Linked DNA regions of Homo sapiens: regions 1, 3, 4, 5, 6 and 7 are each linked to region 2. Evidence: promoter capture Hi-C in 16 types of primary human blood cells and fetal thymus (Javierre and others, 2016). All regions are on one chromosome and are shown on one strand. Each heading gives the region's core, a stretch centred on a gene start or on the middle of the fragment in contact. The rest is flanking DNA. Distances are from core to core; before and after follow the strand shown.

Region 1 (3,760 bases), core at 41-2,540, 480 kb before region 2:
GGGAAATGAGGGAAGGTTTCACACAAGCAACAGCGGTTCAGCTGAAATAGGAAGGAGCCTCAAACAACAAGTCAATGACTTTTTTTTTTAGTAGGAAGACATTTCAGAAGCATGGAAAAGCATGAAAATACGATAGAACAAAGCTGGAGGCATCACACTACCTGACTTCAAACTATACTACAAGGCTACAGTAACCAAAACAGCATGGTACTGGTACCAAAACAGAGATATAGACCAATGGAACAGAACAGAGCCCTCAGAAATAATGCCGCAGGTCTACAACTATCTGATCTTTGACAAACCTGACAAAAACAAGAAATGGGGAAAGGATTCCCTATTTAATAAATGGTGCTGGGAAAACTAGCTAGCCATATGTAGAAAGCTGAAACTGGACCCCTTCCTTACACCTTATACTAAAATTAATTCAAGATGGATTAAAGATTTAAATGTTAGACCTAAAACCATAAAAACCCTAGAAGAAAACCTAGGCAATACCATTCAGGACATAGGCATGGGCAAGGACTTCATGTCTAAAACACCAAAAGCAATGGCAACAAAAGCCAAAATTGACAAATGGGATCTAATTAAACTAAAGAGCTTCTGCACAGCAAAAGAAACTACTATCAGAGTGAACAGGCAACCTACAGAATGGGAGAAAATTTTTGCAATCTACTCATCTGACAAAGGGCTAATATCCAGAATCTACAATGAACTCAAACAAATTTACAAGAAAAAAAAACAACTCCATCAACAAGTGGGCAAAGGATATGAACAGACACTTCTCAAAAGAAGACATTTATGCAGTCAAAAGACACATGAAAAAATGCTCATCATCACTGACCATCAGAGAAATGCAAATCAAAACCACAATGAGATACCATCTCACACCAGTTAGAATGGCCATCAGTAAAAAGTCAGGAAATAACAGGTGCTGGAGAGGATGTGGAGAAATAGGAACACTTTTACACTGTTGGTGGGACTGTAAACTAGTTCAACCATTGTGGAAGTCAGTGTGGCGATTCCTCAGGGATCTAGAACTAGAAATACCATTTGACCCAGCCATCCCATTACTGGGTATATCCCCAAAGGATTATAAATCATGCTGCTATAAAGACACATGCACACATATGTTTATTGCAGCACTATTCACAATAGCAAAGACTTGGAACCAACCCAAATGTTCAACAATGATAGACTGGATTAAGAAAATGTGGCACATATACACCATGGAATACTATGCAGCCATAAAAAAGGATGAGTTCATGTCCTTTGTAGGGACATGGATGAAGCTGGAAACCATCATCCTCAGCAAACTATTGCAAGGACAAAAAACCAAACACCGCATGTTCTCACTCATAGGTGGGAATTGAACAATGAGAACACATGGACACAGGAAGGGGAACATCACACACTGGTGCCTGTTGTGGAGTGGGGGAGGGGGGAGGGATAGCATTAGGAGAAATACCTAATAGTAAATGACGAGTTAATGGGTGCAGCACACCAACATGGCACATGTATACATATGTAACAAACCTGCACGTTGTGCACATGTACCCTAAAACTTAAAGTATAATTTTAAAAAAAAGAAAATATGATAGAAGACAAAGTGGCTAAGGACAAAGAGATAGCATAGTAATTCTGAAATATAAATGGAATAGAATGAAAAAAAAATCCAAGATTTTTCTAATTTAACTCTTTCCTACTCTACTAGCAAGAACTTTGACATATATCAGAAGAACAGCACTGGATGCAGTGGCTCATGCCTATAATCCCAGCACTTTGGTAGGCCAAGGCAGGAGGATCGCCTGAAACCAGGGGTTCAAGACCAGCCTTGGCAACACAGTGAGACACCATCTCTTTAAAAAAAAGAAGAATTTTTTTTTAATTAGCCAGGCATGGTGGCATGTGCCTGTAATCCCAGCTACTCAGGAGGCTGAGGCAGGAGGATCACTTGAGCCCAGGAGTGTGAGGCTACAGTGAGGTATGAACATACCACTGGACTTTAACCTGGATGAGAGTGAGACCCTGTTATCAAAAAAAAAAAAAAAAAGGAGAACATGTAGATGTCATCTACATGACAGCTTTCTACTTATTTCTAGGAATTACACCTATTTTAACTAAAACAAAATCAATGTTGTTAGGTCAGCAAAAGACAGGGCTTCTAATTAGGGTCTCTAGAGTTCATGATTTGCCTTATTTATAATGTTACCCATTTATTTGATAATTATCTGTCTAGAGGTATGAGGCAAACTTAATACTTAGTTTAGAATAAGAGTACTAGCTCTTGGGTCCCTTTTGGCCCTGACTCATGGTCTTTTCACTGTCATCAGGAAAATAACCAAAATGACGAATGAAACTAATAAAACAAAACAAACTCCTGAGTGTAAGGTATCATCATCTTCCAAACTTTACCTGCACTGGGCACACAGTCCCTGTGGTTCCTTTTTTAAAGCAGCACCAGTCTTTCTTATAGTGAGAAGTATCAAGGGCTAGTAGCATCTACTTTGATAAGTAAGGAAGGTAGAGATATACTGCACCTTTGGTCCTCGAGTCTTGGTAGTTTTTCCCATCAACTTTTCATCATCAATTTCACATTGCTCCAGAAGATCCAAAATATCTTCTTCCTTCAAAAAATATTCTAATTAAAATTACAACCACTAATGGACTCTAGAATTTTTCCAAGTTGATTAATCTCCACAAAATAATGCAGAGCAAGGATTCCTGAAATTATTTAGTGAAGATTGCTCAGAAAAAAGGAGAAATATTAAAGGGTCACAGCAAATTCTCTTGAAACTTTCACTAAAATCTGGCATTATAATTAATACATAGCCAAAATCTATTCTGTATTAATTATCCTAAACAAATGTATCTTTATAGTACAGTATAGTATTAAAATCTTAGAGTATAATACTTCAATAAATTAGCCCATTGGACACTAAAATTTCTGGAAAGTTCATGCTGTTTTCCAGATTTCAAGTTTATGAATCATTTCTATACAGATTAGTGCAAAATGATATTAAACCTCCAGACAGAAAACTGATAATTGGACTAACAGTTTCACTTAGAAACATTCTAATGTGAGTATTTGCTGACTGGGCACTATTTAATGAAACTCTTTCAAAATTTTAATGATTGCACAAAGTATTTTTAGAACTTTATAAAGGTTTTCATTCTATAGTCATCAAAGGTAGCAAAAAGCCACAAGTGCCCTAACACCTTTCCTGCGTTCTACTAGAGTCATATTCTGAATCAAAAGGAAATTTTGTAAAAGCATATACCCCAGTGGATATTAGGCAAGCCAGGACAATACGAGTATAATAGCTACACTGAAAGAGGTATAATCAACTGTATCATTTAGTTATTTAAGAAAGGATTCTAGAAAAGGTTTTTGAAGAAACTAGAAATCTCACTGTGCAGTAGAAATGTGTAAAGTAAGTTACTCTTTGTCCCAATCTAAGGAAATTTAGCTATTGAAATCCCAAAATACTCTTATTATACATTTTTTATTAAATAATAATCTTACAATGAATTCCATGGATAGCAGTACAATATAGCCAAAAAGAAACTCAAGGAGTTCTGCTTCTGTTTAGGAGAAATATAACAGATAATACTTTCATCATAACAGCCAGAAAAGGCCAGATAAACTAAACAATCATATTTTCTAAAACATCAGAAAGCTTTACTTTAGGTAAAAAGTAATGTAAAGAAACTAAATTCCAAAGAGGAACAAGTTCTTCCTAGGTGAGCAGAGATGAGTGGC
Region 2 (3,654 bases), core at 953-3,452:
GTAAATAAATAAAATTATTTTGGCCTGGTGCAGTGGCTCACACCAGTAATCCCAGCACTTTGGGAAGCTGAGGCGGGTAGATCATCTGAGGTCAGGAATTTGAGACCAGCCTGGCCAAAGGTGAAACCCCATCTCTACTAAAAATACAAAAATTAGCCGGGCCTGGTGGTGGGCACCTGTAATCCCAGCTACCCAGGAGGCTGAGGTGGGAGAACCACTTGAACGTGGGAGGTGGAGGTTGCAGTGAGCTGAGATTGCACCACCGCACTCCAGCCTGGGCGACACAGCAAGACTCTGTGTTTACTTTAACAGAGAAGAGTAATCTCTCTCTCTCTCTCTCTCTCTCTCTCTCTCTCTCTCTCTCTCTCTCTCAGTATACATACATACATACATACATACATATATATATATATTTGAGACAATCTCACTCTGTCACCCAGGCAAAAGTGCAGTGGTACCATCATGGCTCACTGCAGCCTCCACTTCCTGGGCTCAAGCAATCCTCCCACCTCAGCCTCCTGAACAGCTGGGACTACAGGCATGTGCCACTATGCCCGACTAATTTTTTTTTTATTGTTTGTAGAGATACATTCTTGCTATGTTGCCCCGGCTGGTCTTGAACTCCCAGGCTCAAGCAATCCTCCTGCCTTAGCCTCCCAAAGTTTTGGGATTACAGGCATAAGCCACTGCGTCCAGCTGATAATTTTTAAAAAAACTTTTAAAAATTGACAAAAAGGTTGGGGTTGTTGAAATCCTTTTTTCTGAACACAGGAAGAAAATATATAAAACAAAATGAGAACAGGCACAGTGGTTCATGCCTGTAATCCCAGCACTTTGGGAGGCCGAGGTGGATGGATTCCCAGGCCGAGGTGGGTACACTCCAGCCTGGGCAACAAGAGCAAAACTTCATCTCAAAATAATAATAATAATAATACCAATGGAGGAATGGGTAAGAAAAATATTTCTTCATTTAACCTGCAGAAAGCTGTGAATCTACCAAATACAGCATAGTCTTGGCCTCAGGGCAGTGAGTTTCAAACTTTAGGGTACACCAGCATCACCAATAAGCTTATTAAAAATATAGATTCTTGAGCCCAACTGGAAGAATTCTGATGTAGCAGGTTTGGAATAAGTCCTAGAATTCTGCCTTTTTTGCAGGCACCACAGGTAATTGGGCAGGTGGTACAGAGTCCTCCTCCCAAAACTCTGTCTTAGGATAGAGACACAAGCCTTCCCCTTTTCTATGAATCCTGAGAATTGTGAACAGTTCTAGTGCAACCACAGAGGTAATCTGATTTACAAGGGTTCAGTTTGGTCTGGATCCTCTGATCTGGAACTATTATAGTTATCATTGTGATTATCAGAGAGACAGATTAGGGGCAGCATTATTTCCAGGCATGATGTAAACTGCTATTTATTATGATGGCAGCTTTAATAATTGATGCAAAAGTATGCATTAAAGAAATTATTTTCATATGTCTATCTACTCCTTCCCTGATTCACAAAGAAATTGGTCTCACCTTTTTATAGTTGTTATGGTAGTGGGCCATTTTATTTTGGTTTTCTACTTCAGATTCAGCTTCGAGAATGAGAAAGCATAGTTTGGGCAAAATAGATGTTTGTAACATTTTTTATTAACCTGAAGAGTGGGTGATCAATATGTTTACCTATTGCATAGCAGCCTGAAGCACCACATTGAGTGGCTAAAACCAGGAAGATGGAGAGAATATGTAAACATCTTTGGTAAAATACAGTTAAATTTACTGTTACTTTGAAGCAACCCTTTGAAGTATCCCTTAGCAACTGGTTCCTTAAGACAGAGATTATTAAGTGACAGATCCTAATTATTACTAAGACATAAGGTTTTATCATTTCTGTTTAATGTACGAACCACCTGCATTTGCTCTCATTCATTGAGTCAAACAGGAGAAGACATGAAATATATTTAACATCTACTTATTAAAATGAAGTCCCCCTGCCCAATGAATTTCATACAACAATGTTCACTCCAAAGAGTGAACTATCTTTCCCTATTTTTCTGCAGAACTTTTTGATGACTTTGCAAACCAGTCAACAATTCAGCACAAAGGCATCCAGAGTCACGCTGGCATGTTGTGACAGAATCGCACAATTACATGGGATCCATCCCACTCTGAAAATGCCCCGAACAGCGAACAGCACAGGTAAATCAAATCAAACGTCAGAGCCAGCACAGCCTGAGAGCGCCTTGAAACTCAGACTCCACAATCTATGGGGAAAGTGTCCTGCTGTGGCATGAAATAAATGAAACAGAAAATGATGGCAAGACTGCTAAGAACATCCTTTGCTTTGCTCTTCCTTGGCCTCTTTGGGGTGCTGGGGGCAGCAACAATTTCATGCAGAAATGAAGAAGGGAAAGCTGTGGACTGGTAGGTAAATGAAATGGAAGGACTGCTGCATGCAAACAGCCTCGGTACAGAGTTGGCCTGGCTCACTGCGAAGTTCCTAAGGGGAATGTCCATTCTCTTTCCTCCCTTTACAAATAAAGGAAGTTAAAGTGTGCAAATCGGCCAAACTCCCAGGCAGGGGTAGGCTTCTGAGTGACGGAGTTTCCCCCTGAAAAAGAGCTGAGCAGCCCCTCTTGGGCCTGATTCACTGTTCTCAGCGGGGCAAGGCTGGTAGCCACAGAAGTGGGATTGAGCTGACAGCTTCTGTGAGCTGGCAATTTCTTTTAATTACATCATGGCTTTTCCTAACAGAACACTTCCAACATCCTTTGAAAGACTGACAGAGTAAAGAAGGCAGATTATTTTTTTCTGAAAATGGAGCATGTGCTGCTCCTTATGAGAAAGAGAAGGGGGACCTGGTCACACACAGCACTGTTTGCCTAACATCGGTTTGTTTGGAAGCAGAGGCAGCTGTTGCCATGATTGGTACGTAGGCCACTGGCCTGTTGTACAGTGTCAAAGACATTAAATGCTGTGTTGCATTATAGTCATGGGTTCTCCTAAAGCTTTAACTACTTTTTCACCCTTTAATTGGGATATTTAGGTTTGCCATAATGGTTGGTGTCAAGCTTTTTGTGTAAACTTCAGGCTACAGAACACAGATATACTCAAGGCAGTAGTCAGTCTTTCCTCAGTTACTGAGCTCAACAGAGGTCTGTGTGGAGTTTTGAAAATATAAATATGAACGAAACATGGTTCCTACCCTCAAGGACCTCACAGTTATGTGGTAAGGGCATAGGTGGAACACTGGGGAACAGAGAGCCCAGAAAACTTCTCTAAGGATGTAATTTTTGAGCTAAGTTTTAAGAACAATTAAGAAGTAGCTGGAAAAAGAAGGGATGTGCAAGAGCATCTCAGGCCAATGAAGGAGCAATGAGGAGGTAGAGAGGCAAGAAGCAACATGGAAATTTGGGAGTTGCAAAGTAGTTTGGTATTGCTGGAACTTCAGGAGAATACAGGAAGATGACCGGAGGTGAGGTTAGAGAGGTGGGGACAGCCAAGGGGTCTGTGTGCTGAGCTACAAGGTTTGAACTTGACATTGAAAGGGAGCTATTGGAGGACTTCACGCAGGGGTGTGAATGGTCAGATTTGCACTTTAGGAAACCCATTGGCAGTACTATGAGGGCTGGATGGATGGGGAGCAGCCTAGAATCACTGAGACCAGGAG
Region 3 (3,781 bases), core at 566-3,065, 390 kb after region 2:
TACATTTTCTATATTATGCTTCAAATAAAGAGTTTTAAAATGAAAAGAAAACATATTACTTAACTCATGGGTCAAAAAGAAATTGTGCAGGAAAATATAAAAAGCTAAGAACTGTATGACAACTACACTAAAAATGTGCAGTTTGCAGTGCATTTATTCAGACCAAGGGATGCAGGTGAGAAATCAGCTGTGGGAGAGGACGGCAATGGGTTCTCTTAAGTATGTATGAATACGAATTTATAGGTTTGAATGTTTATTTGGGAAAAAATGCCACTTTAAACATAAAATTAATAAGCTAAGCATCAAACATAAGAAGGTAGAAAGAAAACAAAATTCCCAAAGAAAATAAAAAGAAGGAAATGACAACCTTAAATTAGATAATAGATACAATAAGTACAATCAACGAAGCCAAAAATTAACACTTTGAAGAGACTAACTTCTGGAAAGACTGTATAAGGAAACTAAAAAAATATATAAAGAGATAAGGCACAAATAATATTAGCAGAGAAAGTAGAATACAAACGGTCAAAAAGATAATAAAAATATAAAATGAAAAACCTTATCCAATAAGTCTGGAAATGTTCATTAAATGGACAAATTCCTAGAAAAATATAATTTGCCAAAACTGACCAAAAAAGAAATAGAAAGCCTGTATAACCAGCAGTAAAAATCTTCCCACAAAATAAATCCTAGGCTTAGAGAGTTTTATTTGTGAGTTTTACAAGGCGTTTCAATTACAGCTGAAGATTTACCAGTATGTTAAAGAAGCAGGATTCATGGGATATAATCCAGAAAGTTATTAGTTTTGTCTCCTATGGCCCCTTTAAATCTTCTCAGTGAAGGCAATCCTTCCCCTGCCATTGGATGAAAACTCAGGCAAGCCCTATATAAAATAACTATAAAATATTCACTTTTATAGTTGTTCTTGAGTAATAGAAATACCTTTATTCACTTTCAGACACAAACCCAGACTCAAATTAGTAACTTGACATAAAAAGCCAGGCTTTTTTTTTTTTTAATTATGCTTTCAGTTCTGGGATACATGTGCAGAATGTATAGGTTTGTTACATAGGTATACATGTGCCATGGTGGTTTGCTGCACCCATCAACCTGTTGTCTACATTAGGTATTTCTCCTAATGCTATCCCTCCCCTAATCCCCCATCCCCAACAGGCCCCAGTGTGTGATGTTCCCCTTCCTGTGTCCATGTGTTCTCATTGTTCAACTCCTGAAAACCCAGGCTTTCAATTTAAAAGTTAAGACTTCTCTTCACTCTACCTTCTTTTCCCCCAGCTAAGGGCTATGGCAGGGAGGCCACCTGTTTGGGGGAAAGACATAAAATCCAATCTCTTCCTTTTTTCTGTCTCACCTTGTCAATCACCCTCCCCTATACTAGTCAGGGGACAGAAAACACACCAGTTATTTGAGAAATAATTTAATATAAAGAATTATTAACTAGATATAAAGCTACTAACCAGGTAACAGAAGAGAGAAGAGAATGCTAAGGCGTCATAAGCAATCATTTGAGGAAATGGCTATCATTCCCAGGGCTGAAGAAATAAAAGGAAGAGATTGGAATTCTTGAAATCTAAAAGCTGAGACAAAGGATCCTGGTGAGCTGAAACCCTGACCCTGAGGAGGGGGAGATGATTGACTGATGGTGGTGTCTCAGCTCAGAAGAGCAGCCGGGGGAGGCTGGGGCCCGGACTCTGAACAGGGGGCACTGGTCAGCACATAGTCATGTCTCAGGTTAAAGGGGTGAATGTGACAAGTCTGGTCCTGCAAGTTTGGTAGAAATAGCGAACTGGATCAGCTGCTGCTATGGAAGGAACTACCACCAATGCAGTGAAGGTGCAGTGCTGGAGTGATACTCACAAGAACTGTGAGCAGAAAGGAAGTCCAAAGCAAGCAACTGGGAGGAGCACATTCCTTCTGCTCCTCCAGCCTTTGAGTTTCCCTCTAGCACCCCAATTGGCAGAGCCCAACAGGGAATAGCTGGCAAAGCAGAAAAATGATTTCCAGGGTTCCTGTCCAAGCACCAAAAAGCAGGGAATAAAAGGGTGGAATGAGCTGAAAGACAATTAATAACTCATACATCCCCCATCCATTTACTGCTGTTTCTGATCCTCTTCAGGTCTGGGAGATGGGGAAGGAAGACAGGCAGAAAGTCCTTACTTAACTGGTATCAGCAAGGTATTTGAAGCTGATTCTTTCTCTTATGGAATGCTTTCATGTGTACTTTGGAGAACCTATTTTCTTACCCTATCACTGCTGATTTCCTTTGATCTGAATGAATGCACAGTGTTCTGGAAGTTGCTCACTTACTACCCCTTACTGCCAAGGAAAGCAGTATCCACCTCTAGCTCATGCTGTAATGAAACCTGTTCACCTCTCCAATTGACCTGACTCTGAGTTCATCTATGATGACCCAATTCCCAGCTCTTTTGTGTATACCTAGCCAAGGAAACCATCGTACTGCTTTGTCCAGGCAAACTGGGGGATTACGAGCTGATTCAAGCCCAGCAGCATCTTTCATTCAATCCACCACCAAACCACTTAGCCTATCCTTTTCTTGCCTTCTGTGTTCTAGATGGGAGCTGGACACAAGTCTGCTGACCTGCCTAGGTGGAGAGGACGCATATGGAGCTTTCCACAGGGAAAACTTGAATCCCTTCTCAGTTGGCTCAGTTCATACTAGCAATGTTTTCCAAAGAAATCCTCTTCAAATCTCCATTAAACTCCCCTTTCTAGTCATTTATTTGCTTGAGAGGGCAAGGAGTTGTTAGTGTGAAGGAATGATTCCTGGATATTTCCTTTGGAAAGGCAATCTTGGTCTAACATTTCACTTTGAAAGTTTATATTTTTTGAATCTTGGTGCTTCAATTGAAACTTAATTTAACATCCTTTTTCACCATTCTTAAATTCTTCCTTTTCATCCTGAGATCAGTATAACATTGATCCTAAAATCAAATTAAATAGTACTAGAAAGGAAAATTATTGGCCAATCTTATTCACATGCAAATTCGCCAAAATTCTAAGCAAACTATTATCGACCAAATCCAGCAGGGTATGAAAAAAAGTCCATCACACTAAGTTGGGTTTATCCCAGGAATGCAAAGCTGGGTTAACATTATAAAATTAATTAACGCAATTCCTTATATTAACAGATTAGAGAAAGAAGACAATTTTATCATTTCTTTTCCTTTTCCTTTTTTTTTGAGATAGACTCTCACTCTGTTACCCAGGCTGGAGTGCAGTCGGATGATCTCTGCTCACTGCAACCTCTGCGTCCTGGGCTCAAGCGATTCTCCTGCCTCAGCCTCCTGAGTAGCTGGGATTACAGAGGCGCACCATCACAACAAGCTAATTTTTGTATTTTTAGTAGAGACAGGGTTTCACCATGTTGGCCAGGCTGGTCTCAAATTCCTGACCTCAGGTGATCTGCCAGCCTCAGCCTCCCAAAATGCTGGGATTACAGGCGTGAACCACCGCACCCAGCTGACAATTTTATAACTTTAATATACGGCAAAAAGCATTTGAGAAAAAGCAACCTAATTTGTGGTAGAAACACTGAAAATTATAATTAAGAAGGTAACTCGTTTAACAGGATAAAGGTCAAAAACAAAAATTTATGGCAGATAATATTCTTAATAATAAAACTTACAACTATTTCCTTTAAAATCAGGAACAAGTTGAAGATGCTCAATATTATCATTCTATTCAACATTATTCTACTGATTCTCATCAGTAAAATTTTAAAAAGGAAAATAAAAAGGTACGC
Region 4 (4,081 bases), core at 836-3,335, 360 kb after region 2:
ATCTGGTTGGCGTTTTGTGTTTATTACATGACGATGGTCATTTTCCTCGAGAATAAGGAAGAAATGGACCATCGTTGCAAAGCTTGCACAGTAGCTTCACAATGAAATTATTTTGCCATTTGCTTCTAAGTAGAATTGTAATGTTGGCTTCTAGGTGCACCTCCCACTTCCTCCTTCATTTTTACCTATAATTTCTTTAGCATCGATTGAGAAAGTGTTTATTCAGGGCATAACCCTGTGATAGGTACTGTGAGCGATATGAAAAAAGCCATGGGGCCAACTCTTTTAAAAAGGTGTTAATTGGATTTTTCCCATATAAAACCCCCCATAGCATTTTATTTCCTAACTCTGCTTCTCACCGTCAACTTCATTTGCCTATTTAATGCAATTTGCTTCTCATGATAAGATTCTATTAAGTGATTATTAAGACATTCTGAGTTACCTCAGCCAAGTACATCTATAATCATTACCTACCTCCTGGGGGTGATTTGAGGTGTAATTAGTTAAAGCTCACTGTTACCTCCCAACATCTGAACGACAAACAGAGACCACTTCTACACAGCCAGTCTGTGAGCCTGGTGCAGCCTGTTCACATTTACATAAATCCCATAGATCCAGGTTTCACGAGAGCCCATGTTGGGTCTGTAGAAATAGAGAGCATACTGAAAATTGCCTACCTCTATTTATATCAAATTGTACCCCTGAGGGTTAATTTCTTTTGGTTTCTAAGTGATATTATTTAATAGCCCTAACGTTAGTGTTAATAAAACAAACACAATAAACCTCCACTAAAAATTGAGATATGCTGGAACAAATCAGCCTAGCACGACCCTCAAACCTCTTATTCTTTCAGTCCTTCAGAACCATTTATTGAACTTCTACTGTATGTGAAGCATTGGACTAGGCTCTAAGGCTGTGAAATTCAGAAAGAAAGTCACTTGTCCTCAAGGAATTTATAGTCAGCAAATTTCACAGATGGTGATAATGACTTTTAGAAAACTTTCACATTTACTCAAAAGCCTATCTAGTATTGAGGGGGTGAGGGGGGGTGAGAGAGAGGGTGAGAGGGGGGGAGGGGGGAGAGAGAGAGAAGGGGAGAGAGAGAAGAGAGCGAGCAGGAGGCTCCAAGTGGTTTAAATACTTTATTGATGAAAGTTCTCAAGTCAAATACCAAAGGCCCCAGGGCTCCTGGGATCTTTTCTCATGGAGAGCTACTTTTAGCCCATGGAAGATTAGAGACATTTAATTAGGAGGAGGAGGTGAACTGTTTCAGTAGGCACACAGACAAGAAGAAGGAGAGACATGGATAGCATCCTTGTAATAAGTAATCAGGTAGAAAAACTGAAAGAAAAAAAGAAACAAGAATTCATGGAGCATTGCAGTGTGGAGATATTTAGTATAAAGGCAAATAGCTTTGTAAACCCCAATGGTCTTGAGGGTTTCAATTTGCATTACAGCACAGTACAATAATTTATTTTCATAATGACTGGAACACACGAAGGCAACTTTAGAACATGGCTACTAGGCAGTAGAATAGGGAATAGAGAATGATTTCCATCAAAAACTATTTCTAGAAATTTAAATCAGTCTTAAAATGATTTAAATCAGTTCTTAAAGTAATGCTTCAGTTATAAGATACAGTAGGCAAATTCTAATTCAATATAAAAAAGTGCTTTCTAGCCATTTTAGCCTCCTTTAAAGCGGATTTATTGACCTTGGGAGGTGGTGAGCTTTCTGTGGCTTAGAGGAACGTAAGCTAAGTGCAGACAGCCACCTATGAGAACGCTGCAGAGGGACTTTGAAAGTCCACCTGCTGGTCAAATCCAGACTGCCGCAAATTTTGTACAGCCTGAGAGCTAAGAATAGTCTTTACATTTTAAACTGAAATTGTAAAATTAAAAAAAGCCTTTTAGTGAGAATAGTTGTTCAATTTTGCCTCCACCCACAAAGCCTAAAATGCCAACTATCTGCTCCTTTACAGAAAAACTTTGCCAACCCCTACTCTAAGGAGTTGCTCTTTCCCAACTCTGAGGCTCCGGGAGCTGAAGCACACCTCATTTTCTCATGAAGGCTCAATGAAAATGACTCGATATTAAAACTGCTTTACTCTGGCCAGGGTAGAGCATCCTTTTAGATACTGACAGTCTCTGGAAATCGGCCTTGATCTAGTGTTAGGTAACGCTTGCTGGGATATACAAATATCAGATTTCGTACTTCTCAGTCTTACAAATTAAATTTTATACTTTCAGATTTTATTCACTGGCTAGGGAGAAAGACAACTCCATGCGCTTCACTGAGTAAATAGCAGAAACAGGGCGTATTTCAAAGCCACCCAGACCTCCCCTTATGTCAATGCCACAAACAAGGCCCAGTGAGCTCTGGGCCATTCTTAGGGGTTCCACCAGGGAAGATGGTAGAGGTGAGGTCATCGTCTCTTGATGGTAGATGCACAGGCCAGGGACCATTATATTATTTTTACCCTAAAAGAGAAATGCCCTTAGGAAACAAAAGTGTTCATAGTTTTCTCAAATTTTTTCTCCTATGTTTTTCCCTCTAAGTCTGGGAGTAAAAAACTCTTAGCTTAGAGAAATGCCATCTCCACCTATTCTGCCTTTGCTGAGAGATTAGCAACCCTTGAAAGGCTTTGGTCTCCAGGCATGCCGGGGGCAGGAAGAAAATGTCTGGTCTTGTGACTCTCCCAGGTGTGAAGTGATGGTTTCAGTAATGTCAGTGTGATTCCTGGGTCTTAGAAAGAAAAATAAAGCAGAAGAAAACCCTGGCATAACCCAGTGAATGGTAGCTTAATGTCATAAATTCCATGGCTCAAGTCAGAACAACAGTCTTTGGAGGATTTCATTCTCTCCAAGGACAAATACGTGTTTCCAGTTGGTTTTATAAATGTGTATCTATGTGTGTTTGCATCTTTCCTGTGGCAGAGTGCCTAGACACGGGCAAGTCATCTGTGGATAACAGCATGCAGCATGTGACATGAAAAATCACACATTGTATGTTTAATTGCTTCAAGGCATTACACACACACACACACACACACACACACACCCCAGCTTAGTGCTGTGTGACTTCTGCCACTGCCTCCTACCCTATTTGTCAGATTACAGGGACACAGAGCAAAGTTTACTGCACACAAAAAAGCCAAACTAATGCTACGAGCCATGCATGGATTCTCCCTGTCTTCCATTTAGAAATCCCCGAGTAAAAAAGGATTATGGTCCTATCACATTTTACTAAACATTCATTCTGTGACCCAAATAGCTCCTGAAGACACAGTTATCACCCACTGTGGGTGCTTTCTTTGTGACTATTTTCAAAGGCATCTGCGGGATAGGCTAGAAATATCAAAATATCATTTGGAGATAAACTGTGGTCAGGACCTATAAATAGCTGCTTCCCTTTAGTGTCTCCGCCCCCCTGTTCCCTGGTCCCCCCTTCGCTCCATACTGCTGCCCTTCACCTTCTTTTTTTCTCACACACAGGATCACATGCTCCTCCCGGGGAATGGACTTGGACCACGTGCATAAGAAATGGCAATCTGGACGGGCACATTTCCTCTGTCACAGAACTGTGTCTTGTATCCCAGCATCCTCCCCACCTCCTTCCCGTGGCCCTGTTTCACAATTAGAATGCAGCTCGGAGTGGAAAGAACTGGCACCCAGCAGATGGCTGCAGGCAGTACCTTCACGCAGCCCCGACGCCCACTCCTCGGCAGCAAGAACTGGGGAGCGCCATATGTCAGAGCTGCCGCCGATGCCAGCAGAAGGGAGGCTTTGTTCTTTTGATGGGTTTGTTTTGAAAGGGGAACATAAATAATACACACCCACCTCTCCTTCCCCAGCAATCTGGGCAGAGCTTGCCGGCAGTCCTTGTGGCTCAAAGTGCCCCAATTGTTCCCTGAACATGGCTGAGTATGAGGGCTGGTCTTGGCCACCAGATGGATTAAGTCTGATTAATTTTCAACCGTAAATAATGCTTTTCTCATATTTAATCAGTGAATACTTAATCAGCTTTTCCCTGGGAAAAAAAAATCATGTTTCCCTAAAAAATTAAGATATTTGTTTTCACA
Region 5 (3,678 bases), core at 888-3,387, 500 kb before region 2:
CCTTTTAGTTTTTACAATTTTAATTTAAGCTATTAGTTTAACTCTTTATATTTTTTAGTGTAGAAAGCAGTGCTCATGACTAATGTGATATAAGAATCAACACTAACTGTAAATGATAAATTTAAATCATTTTTCTTCTCACTTTTCCTTTCTACTTTCTGTCAATATATTAGTAAGTAATAATAGGCCAAAAGTCATAATGCAGAAAGGAAAGAATAAAAAAGTAGCCAAGATAACCCATGTATTAGTCTCAAGGATAAATATGAGTTATATAAAAATAACTGAAATTGAAAAATGTTATTGATACTGGCAATTTTAACGTTACCTTAAGTTCATCAGTTTTCACATTATATTATAAAATGATTATTCAACTTTAAAATGATAAAGGATTTGAGACCATGGAGTATTCATTCATTTCTTTTTAAATACACTTCAAGGGCAACTAACATGTATCATCCGCCTGCTCTATGCAAAACACTGTGCTAGGCACATTACTTAGAGGAGATTCTTTTGACCACTACTCTGCATATATTTTCTTAATTTAGAGGGAATTTTAATAGCATGACAGTACCATATTCTAGCCCATACATGACTAAAAGCAGCACCTTCAGAATGGAGCCGGGGAGTTAGGGATGGGGAATGCTTCTGCTCCATTCCTAATGTTTTCTTCAATATGGAGATGGAAAAATCTGCAGGCATCATGGCACCCCATCAGGCACCTCTACCTAAGAAGCAATTTCCCAGATTGGTGAGACTGACATGGTCTGGGCAAACTAGGCACATTCTCCTTCCTGTCCAGAGCAAACCACTGGGAACACGCATTCCTCTTTGCTTCTCTTTGCTTTCAGTTTTCAAGGAGCCTCCGCAAGAAGGCAAGCTTTGGTCCTCGGAGACCCACCCCTATAATTTGGAGGGCATGGAACAACAGACTGAGGGAACAGGAACCCAAATCCTTCAACTCTCCTCTGAGTCTTCACATAAGCTCCTTCCTCTGCCTGAAACAGTCTTCTCCTATCTCTTCATCTGATAAACTTCTATGTTTCACTTCAAATGCCACTTCTAAGGAAAACTTTACCTGCCACTGAACTATTGTTTGATATCTTAATGCCCAGTTCTTCCTTTATTAGCAAGCACCTTATTTTATTTTAATTTCCTGTTTAATTAATGGAGACTGTTATGCATATAAAGGGAGTAAACTGTGCCCATCTTGATAATAAAGTTACCAGGTCCCCAAGGCTTAAGACAAGGTCTATCATTTAGTAGGTTCCTGTCTTAGTAAGTCATTCCTTGCAAGAAAGTCACACCTATGTAGACAAGGTAAAAAATCATTGAGAGAACTTACCATGTGCCAAGCACTGTTCTAAGCACTTTTACATATATTAACTCATTTAGTCCTCAAAACAAAAACATGAGGTAGATACTATTGGTCCACAGTCCCTTTCCAAAAATCTCAAGCTTAGATTCCATAATCATACATATTATTAATTCTGCAGGAAAAAAATGTAAATATTCAAACCAAGAGATAGACAAAATCAATACATAACTTCTTGTCAGGTCATTGTCACCAAATGAATTCAGGTAGGTTAGGTTTTGCTGCCTAGGGGTTATGAAAATTTTTTTGGTCGTGAAAACATTTTGGATCCCCATTTTATGGATGAGAAAACTCAGGCACAAAGCAGATAAGTAACTTGCCCAAGATTACCCAGCTCATTGTATCCAGACCTACGCTCTTAACTACATCCAGCACTGCCTCACAATTTAGATTTTCCAGATGCCAGCAGCAAAAGCCTAGAGAGAACCCCATTATCTCTTCTTAGATTCAGATTCATTTCTAGTCAAATGGTATTTGGGAGGAGAGTGGGATCACTGTGTAAAAACAAGGTTGCCTAGGCACCCCCTCCTTTATGGCCACGGAGTAAGGAATAGTTTGTTTAGAAGGCTATACAGATGGGGAGACAATGACTGTACTTTTAGCCAAATACTCACTTAATAATTTTAAGAAAGCACAGACCAGGCAGGCAAGAAATCAGACTGGAATGAGATAAATTAGTGCTAGTTCTACCTGTGATGCTTTTTTGGATTTCTGGTCCTTTGGGGATTGAAGAAATTGGATGGAAGATGAATAATTCGTGAAACACAAAAATAAATGATCAGCAAGGTGCCCTTGTGTTATCTGTGGGCTTACGTGAGGCTAATTTATAGAATATAGGTATCCATTTCCTTACATTATGACTTTTAAAAGCATCCCAATCCAACATTAAGCTCTCCAAGGGAAAAAACAAATGGGAGATTCAGTCAATGACAACATTAATAAAATGAAAAGATTTGTCTTTTCCATGTGAAATATAGCACATTTGAAGGCATAAAGCACACAGACAAATTCATATTTTGCAAAAGCATACAGATGTTGAATGACAAACTGCTCCATATGGCCGAACAGTTGGTCCTAAATTAAAATAATGGCACGAGGTGAAGGCGGTTTAGAAATAACATTAAAATCACTACATGCTGTACTAATGATGCATGCAGCAGCGATGGCTATAGGGTAAAGGCATCTTTGCTGATGCAAAACGAACAGCTCTGAACAGCATCTATGTCAGCCTGAATAAAACAGAGACGGAAAATAGTATCATCAAAATGCATGCAGAAGCAGCCACAGTAGGTATTAAAAATAAATTGCTATTTAGAGAAGTAATACTTGATAAACAAGGACCTCTTAGCACCCTAAAATAAATGCAAATACAGTACAACCTTAATGTCATTAGTTATTTCTCTTCATCCTCCACTCTTAGTTTATGTTTAGGTATCACATCAGATAATAAGCTTTTCAGCAAATCTGGCATTCTTTGCAGCCCACCAACATGACTATATTTTCATACTTCATATATATTCCTCACAAACTATATAAAGCAACTGCATTCTTGGCAGAAAGCTAAATTATGCAAGTATGGAGTTACCACAACATGACATTAAATAAGATTAACTATTTCCATTTTCACCTGGTGAGGGTTCTTTTCAGGATTTAATTCCCATACCCTTGATCTTTACATTTTACATCCATTAAGGAAAATTTGAAGGCAAATAATTTTTTTTTAATTTCCAAGAACAGAAAAAAGGAAAGCATGTGAAAGACTCTGTGTGTATGTCATTCTAATCTTGGAGCTTTACAACAGGCTAATAACCACAAATGCCTCAATCCTGGAACAGGAAAAGTGGTATATATATTTCCATAATGGTCTCTAAATGGAATTAAGATACTTAAATAAGAGTCTTGTGCTTCCATACCTTGAATAGTGCCTGGGGCATGGTAGTCCCTCAATAAATATCTGTTGAATGCATGATTAAGTGAGCAAATAAATGAATGAGTAAACAACTCTCAAAATCCCTAACAGTGTCTAGCATATTATTTGTATAAAATTGGCAATCAATAAATGTTTGTTAAATTAAAATGTATCACGCACAGCCTTTGTGGCAGCCATGGAGATGTGCCACTTAAATTAACATGTTTCAAAGAATGCAGTTAGCTGATGGCTTCCCCACTGGGGATCCACTGCAATATTCAAACCATGCTTACACTCTCCCAAGATAGTTCCCAGCCAAGGATGAAGCATGGCTGGGATACGAGTGAAGAGCTATTTCTGCTCACTGTGATCCCTTCAACAGCCAGTCTTTGTTCTG
Region 6 (3,661 bases), core at 89-2,588, 350 kb before region 2:
GTTTAATATCAGATAAAACTAGTGCTCTTTCATTACTTTTTTCTGTTTTAGAATTTCCCTGGCTATTCTCTCTTATCTATGCATTAGGATTGGGGTGGGGTAAAGGTGACAGGTAAATCACTGAACTATATGATAGCTGTGGCATTTGAAAGGTATGGGAACAAGAGTAATTATAAGGATTGTAGAGTTTTTTTATAAGGATGCAGGTTTTTGCATACTCTTAGTCTTAAAGTGGAAAAAGACAAGCTCAAGTCTTTTAACTATTAACTCCACATTTTTGTGACTCAGCAATAATGTTATTAAACGATTCTTATCTCCTGTAGGTTGTATGAAAATTAGACTCAGAATCTTTTTATAAGAGTTCCCCATGTTATGACAAAGACAGAATTGCCAAACCGTTCTAGGTCTCCAGTGTCACAGAAGGCCCTAGTAGAAAAAGGAAGGAATCCTTAGACCTGTAGGAAAGACTGAAACTAATATCACTAGAATACCCTAAACAGCAGACCAGATCCCTGCCTCTTATGAGAAGAGAGTAGCCTCCCTTTAGCTAAAAATCTTTACAAGAGACTGACATGAGGCACACGCTTCAAAGATAATGTTTGTTGTCTTTAAGATCTACCTTTTTCACCCCAATTACCTTGAATGGGGAAATGTAGTACCTTCTTTAGGGGGAAATACAACTGCTCTTCATTATTTGTGGACTCTGTATTTGCAAATCCACCTACTCACTAGAATTTATTGGTAGCCCCAAAATCAATATTCACAGCACTTTTGTGGTCATTCAAGGTTATACATAGAGCTGCAAAAAACTCAAGTCACCATCATGCACATTCCCAGCTGAGGCTGAACAAGACTACATTCTGCTTACTTGTTTCAGCCCTCATACTGTAAACATGTGTTTTTTCTGGTCCATTTAATGCCATATTTTTCTCATTTTTCTGCCTTTTGTCAGCGATTTTGGTTTTTGAAAAATAAGTGTCCAAAATTTTGCTTTTTAAAATGGCCCCCAGACAAACTTATGAAATGTTATCTAATGCTCCTAAGCACAAGAAGGATGTGATGTGCCTTATGGAGAGAAGCATCATATGTGTTAGGTAAGCTTCATTCAGCCATATGAATGTACAGCCATATGAATAGTACTATTGGCTGTGAGTTCAATGTTAATGCATCCACAATGTATATTAAATAAGGTGTCTTTAAACAAAAATATACATAAAACATTGTTATATGTTGATCAGTTGAGAAAGATGTTGTGACCAGAGGCTCACAGAAACCTAACACTGTTATTTACCCTAGGAGCAATGGTCCAGTATTTATTAATTTAATGACTTTATAGAACATAACTACTGCAAATAATGAGTCAAATGCACCTTCTACTTAAAAGGAATTTTAGGAGCTGACTATGAAGTGCTTGTAGGAACTAGGGAACACTTGTGGGAGTAGACTGGTGGTGTTAGTGGGAAGGGGACCAATAGGGGAAATTTTATTGATGTCGGAACATCTTCCCATGCCTTATGATTTAATATTCCAGCAAGGACTGTCAAAGCCAGTCCTACTATGGTTTTAAGATAACATCTTGAAGCTTAGACATGATGATGCCTACATAAATGAGATGGGAATATTAGAAATGCTTTGGAATAGTATTAAAGAGTCAGAAGCCTCTGCATGTTGAAATTTTGCTAGATTTTTAATGTGAGACTGGAGAATCCATCACCTGATTCTATTTCCTGGGAGGGCCAGAGGACATTTTCTTTATTAAGGCAATGAGGAATCCATGAGTGAGGGAACTCAATAGTTTACAGTTGACGGTAGGAGATGCTGCCATGGAACTAATTTTACTACTTGTTGGTAGAAGAGTTTCTGAATGCCAGAGGCCAGGTGGTGGCACTTATACATCAGAGACAACGTGGATGTAAACAATGGATAGAAAGGCCAGAATAACAGTAGGGGTGCTCTAACTCATGGGGACCATTTCCAATGGCTAGTAGATTACTGTGTCCCAAGAAGTCAGGCAGATCGATAGCCAACTAAAGTTGTTACTTGACTTGGACTATATCCAACATAGCTGCTGCAATGCAAAATAGTAGTCCTTCAGCTATTTTATATTTATGTCAGTTCACACACTGAGTCCATTGATTGAAGAGAAGCGAAGCCCCCTTAAGGAAATATCCTGCAACAAAACCACAAGTATATATGATAAACATTCCTTTGATTGTTCCTCATAGAGTCTGGCCATTTATCAAGGCAACTGTGCGATAGGAAAAGAGGTAATACCCAGATTTTTTTAGAACTCTTAGACATGGGATGTGAGTTGATTTCTAGTTAAGGGAACCAAAAATTACATTATAGTCCTCTTTAGAATGGTGGGCTTATAAAAACTAGGTAATAAATGGAGTTCTGGTCCAAGTCTGGCCTACATTGTGTTCAATGGGTCAATGACTTTCCCTGTGGTTAGTTCTCTATTCCTCACATATATACTAGGGATAGATATACTCAATAGGAGGCAGAAGCCTCACATGGGTTCTCTGATTTGTGGAGTAAAAGCTGTTGTAATGGGAAAGACTAGGCAGAAGCCCTTAAAAATGTCTTCCCTTGCATATAGCATGCAAGATATTAAATCAGAGCATCTATATCCCAGGAGGAATTGCAGAGAATAATACCACCATCAGAGATTTAAAGGATACAGGGCACAGAGGTGGTACTTTTCATCATACCCCCGGTTCAGTATGCCTATTTCACCTCTGTAAAAATGAGATGGATTTTAACATATGCTGTGGACTACTATAAATTTAACTAGATGGTAGCCCTAATCCCAGATGCTGTACTGTAATCAACACAGCCTCTGTAGCTACTGAACTGGTGAATGGGAACTTTTCTATCCATAAAAGTGATGAGGAACAAAAACAGCATTTACATGGTAAGGACAGCATTATGCACTCACTATCTTGGCCCATGTCTTTGTCTGTGTCTGATGCTATAATAAAATACCACAGACTGGGTAATTTTTAAATAATATAAATTTATTTTTCATAATTCTGGAGCGTGGGAAGTCCAAGGTCAAGGTACTGACAGGCTCTGTGGCTGGTAAAAACCACTCTCTGCTTTTAAATGGCACCTTGTTGCTGTGTCCTCACATGATGAAAGGGGGAAGGGCAAAAAAGGGCCTAGCTAGTTCCCTCCAGCCCTGTTATAAGGCACTAGATCTCCTCCTGAAGGCCCTATCTCTTAATACTGTTATACTGGGGATTAAATATCCACATGAATTTTTAAGGAAATACAAATATTCAAACCATAGCAACCCCAAACTATGTTAATTTTTCTATTCTGTCAAAATGCAGTTCTTTGGGACCGCAACATTTTGGCATTTTTGGGGATCTAGTGATAGTCTCATCCTTTTTTGGATCATGACTAGGCTGGTAAAGTCTTTGCCTAAATTATTGTGTATCTCATTTTGAAGCTACAAGGGTTGGATTTGTTTATATAGTCAATTTTTTTCTAATTTGTTGATTTGTTTTTCTTTTTTTTTTTTTTTTTTTTTTTTTTTTTTAGGCTTTATGGGGCACATTCAGCTCCTCTCACATATTCTTCTTTGTTTTATTTATAATTTTTTTTTTTACAATTCTTTTTTTTTTTTTTTTTTTTTTTTTTTTTATTATACTCT
Region 7 (4,073 bases), core at 484-2,983, 450 kb before region 2:
TCCATTATATAAAAGATAAGTTATCTCTTTGGATTTCTACATTGTTTTTAACACCAAATCAGTTTTTCCAGCAATTATGAGAATCCCATGATTGCTTCTAAGGAAACCTACCAATTTCAAACTTTGTCCCGGCAACATTTGCTGTAATGGTTCCCTTCTTTTTCTTCTTTCTGACTTTCCTTTTCATTGTGCTTTGATAAGGTAATTCTGTATTCAAATCCAGGGGAGAGGGTCCCTGAATAACTTTAAAAAAATGTAAAATAATCAGATAACACTGAAAACAAAAATCTATACCAGACAACACAAATACCACCCCCACCCCACACCAAGGTAAAATTACAAATCCTGGTACTTTAAAAAGTCCCCAATTAATTTTTAATACTTTAAAAATATTAACAGTAATGATGTATAACACCTCCATATTTTGTAACATAGTTAAGTCAATTTCCCTACCTCCTTCTTGAGGCAGAGATGGCATTATTGCCTGTGCTGATTAGCAAGCAGTGTGTGCTGCTGTACCAAGCTCTCAGGAAATCTGGAAATTCCACATTAGTCTAAGTAGGATATGGCCCCAAATCACTGAAAGTTCTTATCATATTATCTTGGTGGAATCCTCAGATTTCAGGATACCAAAGTTATGGGATAACAAGGTACCTGCAGTGATTTTAAAACAAGGTCATTTAGAAAAAACTTTTTTGAATTTTTTTTCATATATGCCAAGACTATTCTTTTTAAAAGTCAAGGTGAAAGTTAATGTGTTCAATCAACAAATAATTGTAAATCGGTTTATTAAACCTTACGCAAAATGCCAAGTGATGCTTTCCTATCCTGAAAGAATGCATAGTCTAGGGGAAGAAGTTTTATTAAGTCACGTGTCACATGTATATTCAATAAATAATATACTATACACAAACAATAACAGCAATAACAATATTCACTACTATTTATTGAACACTTATTATCTTAGGCATTTATATTATACCATTTAATCTTTCAACAAACCTGTAAGGTAGAAGCTTTTATCCCCATCTTACAGATAAGTTGAGCTTAGAAAGGACAAATTATTTTGTGTATCTTTACAAAGAAAATTACAACACAGAGATTAAAATGAAGATTCTTCTAATGTCAATGCCAGAGTGTCTTATTTAGAAACCCACACAACCTTCAACCCAATGCCTGAAACACTGCTTTTAATATGAGACAGTGAAAAGTGCCAGGCAGGGTAGAGGTCACATGTTGACAGAATGCAGAGAAGTGATTCCTATATAAAGGATTATGGGGGACAACTTAATAAAGTAAACCACATCTTGAATTGTGCCTTAAAAAATGAGAACAGTTTTGAAGGACAGAAAATGGGTGGGGTCATTATTATGATGATTTTATTCAGGCACACAGAGGAATGCAACAATCAATGAATTAATTTGATCTGGCTACATCTCAACATGGCCTATAGTACACTTTGCTTGTATTTTCATTGTAAATATATGAACGTAGGCATTTATGCCCTAACAATACCATATTGTTCAGTCTGTACTATCAACTTTCTAATTTCTCCTTATTGTAAGAATCCTTCAGTTCTTGTAAAATATCTATAAACACAATGAAAAATAAAACCTATTATGATAAGCAAAGGTATAATATCAACACCTTTATTAGATTGTCAAGTTTATCAGAAATTCAGAAACATCCAACATTCAGCTACATAAAACGTGAGTCCTATATCACTCCAAATATTCATTATTATTAATGTTTCAATATTAAAGAAAATTTAGGGTTTTATTTGTTCTCAGGTATCATTTTTACTAAAATGATTGTCTAGTATAATTCAATATCAAAACGGGGAACTTTTATTTATTACAGACCAACTGTAGGTAGGCATTTTATTAAGCATTTTAAATATTTTATTTCATTAACAAACTTTAAATTTAGGTATCATTTCTCCCTATTTTCCAGAAAAAGAAACTAAGGCTAGATAAGTTAAACAAATCAAGGTAACATGGCTTAGAAATAGAAAACTTAGACTTTAAACCCAATTCTAATTATTCTATTCATTAAGCTCCCCTATTTTCAGACCCCATGCTAACATAATATATAGACATATGAGAAGTTTCCAACCCTACTGCAGTACATGCCGCAAGATATGGCCATATTCTGGGAATTTGCAATACTTCAAACAGTGAATTCACAGTAAAACATCTCTAAACTGATCTCAGCTCCCAATGCCAAGCTGGAAACAGACTGGATCACTTCTCAGAATAAAAGAAAGGAGTAGTGTAAAGTTTAGTTCAGTTTCTTTCTGGAGGCTCTCTGAAACCTCAGGGAAGTAACTATTTGAGTTTACAAGTTTTTTGTCCAACATCTTGTTACTGGAGTAAACAAAGATCCCCTTTACAGTAACAGAATACTTATTACATTGAAAGTAGGTGACAAAGTCAACAAGACTTTAAAAACAAGCTTCACCTAACTATACTAGATTCTAAAAACAAATTTGTTAGTTTTTGACTTAAATAATAAGTCAAATGGCTGATTTGTACAGAGTTCAAAACAAGAACTTTTATCCCTTCCCCAAGGCATACAGGAATTTAAAGTTCTTAAAATTATACTATGCATATATGCGCTTTACTTAATTCCATTTATGCCTTAGTCAAAGTGCTTTAACAAACTCAAGGACTTCATTCAACCATGGCAATTCTAATCAGCTTTATTCTAAGCAAGAGATTTGAGATGACGGATTTATCCCACCACTCATTTGAAACCATAGTTACCTACTTTCCAAAAGCAGAAAACATGTTTCAGTTACCTCTGAAATGCTTTAAGCCAATGGCTTCTCAACCTTGGCTGCAAAGCAGAATTGCCTGAATGAGGAGCTTTTGAAAATCCTGCTGTCCAGGCCACACCCCAGAACTAAGTGGGGCCCAACCATCAGCATTTCTAAAGCTCTTCATGTGATTCCAGTGCAGCTAAGGTTGAGAACCTCTACTGTAAGCACACGATGACAATGCAACAAATAATAGCTAATTATAACAACACATGAAATTATAAGAAAAAAAGTAAAAGAAAACTCATAACTTTTTTAAAAAGACCAAATAGGTAAAAATTACCCACAAAAATCCTGTTTTCCTATCTAGTTCAAAAAAAAAAAAAACCAGAAAAAAATTTGACGGTGAGCACAAAATGATTTTTAAGATAAAGAAACAGAATTTATTTACAAAAGGAATCAATTTTCCAAAATTTCAAGCAAATGTTAACCTTGAACATAGAACTGTCAAGCACCAATAGATACACGAAATTGAAACAAAACCAAAATAATTCCAGTACATTTGTGCTAGAGTACCATTTCTTCCCTATTCTTCCGTTGAGCTTCTACCACACTTAAATTCCACATAAAATACCACTTTTTCCTGAAAGCTTTCTCTGATTATATCTGAAGAAATTCATTTCTCCCTCTTTTGGGCTATCACAGGCCTTATTTTTACCCTTATCATAATCACCTGCCAAAAAGATGGTTTTCTTCTATCTTGTTCACTCCTCCATTCCCAGGTCCTAGAATAGTGCCTGACCATAGTGTTCAATAAGCACTTGTTAATGTGTGCTATGGTTTGAATATTTGTGTCCCTCCAAAATTCATGTTGAAACATAGTCCCCAATGAAACAGTATGATGAGGTAGGACCTTTAGAAGGTGATTGGGTCCTGAGGGCTCCTTCCTCATGAATGGGAAGGACTTTATAATCAAGGCTTCACACAACCTTTCCATCCCTTCCACCATGAGAACACAGCATCCATCTCCTTCAGAAGGTGCAGCAACAAAGTACCATCTTAAAAGCAGAAACAGCAGCCCTCACCGTCAATAAACCTGCCACCACCTTGATGTGGACTTCCCAGCCTTCAGAAATTTGAGAAATAAATTTCTATTGTTTATAAGTTATCCAATTTGTGGCGTTTTGTTATAGCAGCACACACGGGCTAAGACACTGAGTTAATAAATCGGTTAATTAGCCAGGCACCATGGCTCATGCCTATAAATAATCCCAATACTTTGGGAGGCCTAGGCAGGAGGATCACTTGAGACCAG

What was found. Contacts are between HindIII fragments. The CHiCAGO score rates a contact against its expected background, and 5 or more counts as called.
Region 1: a contact is called between a fragment that was not itself captured here and the fragment with the promoter of DNASE2B in region 2, in 1 of 17 cell types (naive B cells). The highest score is 5.3, in naive B cells.
Region 3: a fragment that was not itself captured here is called in contact with the fragment with the promoter of DNASE2B in region 2 in 1 of 17 cell types (monocytes); the score reaches 5.0 in monocytes.
Region 4: a fragment that was not itself captured here is called in contact with the fragment with the promoter of DNASE2B in region 2 in 1 of 17 cell types (M0 macrophages); the score reaches 5.2 in M0 macrophages.
Region 5: a fragment that was not itself captured here is called in contact with the fragment with the promoter of DNASE2B in region 2 in 2 of 17 cell types (endothelial precursors and fetal thymus); the score reaches 5.6 in endothelial precursors.
Region 6: a contact is called between a fragment that was not itself captured here and the fragment with the promoter of DNASE2B in region 2, in 1 of 17 cell types (naive B cells). The highest score is 5.1, in naive B cells.
Region 7: a contact is called between a fragment that was not itself captured here and the fragment with the promoter of DNASE2B in region 2, in 6 of 17 cell types (erythroblasts, total B cells, total CD8 T cells and 3 more). The highest score is 7.1, in erythroblasts.

Annotation. Positions count from the first base shown.
Region 1 is chr1:83,915,067-83,918,826 of GRCh38, forward strand. TTLL7 (tubulin tyrosine ligase like 7) reads right to left here. Exons shown (of 21, transcript NM_024686.6): 14 at 2,538-2,624. Among named protein-coding and RNA genes, the nearest start is that of LINC01725, 56 kb to the left of the region's middle. The HindIII fragment of the contact is 4,769 bases long and covers 1-3,675 here.
Region 2 is chr1:84,396,282-84,399,935 of GRCh38, forward strand. DNASE2B (deoxyribonuclease 2 beta) reads left to right here and starts at 2,203. Exons shown (of 6, transcript NM_021233.3): 1 at 2,203-2,408. The coding sequence starts at 2,284. The HindIII fragment of the contact is 1,924 bases long and covers 1,067-2,990 here.
Region 3 is chr1:84,787,433-84,791,213 of GRCh38, forward strand. The region is part of intron 2 of LOC102724892 (a long non-coding RNA gene); the gene reads right to left. Among named protein-coding and RNA genes, the nearest start is that of SSX2IP, 99 kb to the left of the region's middle. The HindIII fragment of the contact is 7,389 bases long and covers 1-3,781 here.
Region 4 is chr1:84,755,705-84,759,785 of GRCh38, forward strand. No RefSeq gene overlaps it. Among named protein-coding and RNA genes, the nearest start is that of SSX2IP, 67 kb to the left of the region's middle. RefSeq lists an enhancer at 933-1,504. The HindIII fragment of the contact is 4,011 bases long and covers 81-4,081 here.
Region 5 is chr1:83,894,014-83,897,691 of GRCh38, forward strand. The region is part of intron 18 of TTLL7 (tubulin tyrosine ligase like 7); the gene reads right to left. Among named protein-coding and RNA genes, the nearest start is that of LINC01725, 35 kb to the left of the region's middle. The HindIII fragment of the contact is 1,368 bases long and covers 1,454-2,821 here.
Region 6 is chr1:84,048,739-84,052,399 of GRCh38, forward strand. No RefSeq gene overlaps it. Among named protein-coding and RNA genes, the nearest start is that of TTLL7, 51 kb to the left of the region's middle. The HindIII fragment of the contact is 483 bases long and covers 1,098-1,580 here.
Region 7 is chr1:83,951,734-83,955,806 of GRCh38, forward strand. TTLL7 (tubulin tyrosine ligase like 7) reads right to left here. Exons shown (of 21, transcript NM_024686.6): 2 at 454-654; 3 at 112-243. The coding sequence starts at 478. Among named protein-coding and RNA genes, the nearest start is that of TTLL7-IT1, 31 kb to the right of the region's middle. The HindIII fragment of the contact is 1,438 bases long and covers 1,015-2,452 here.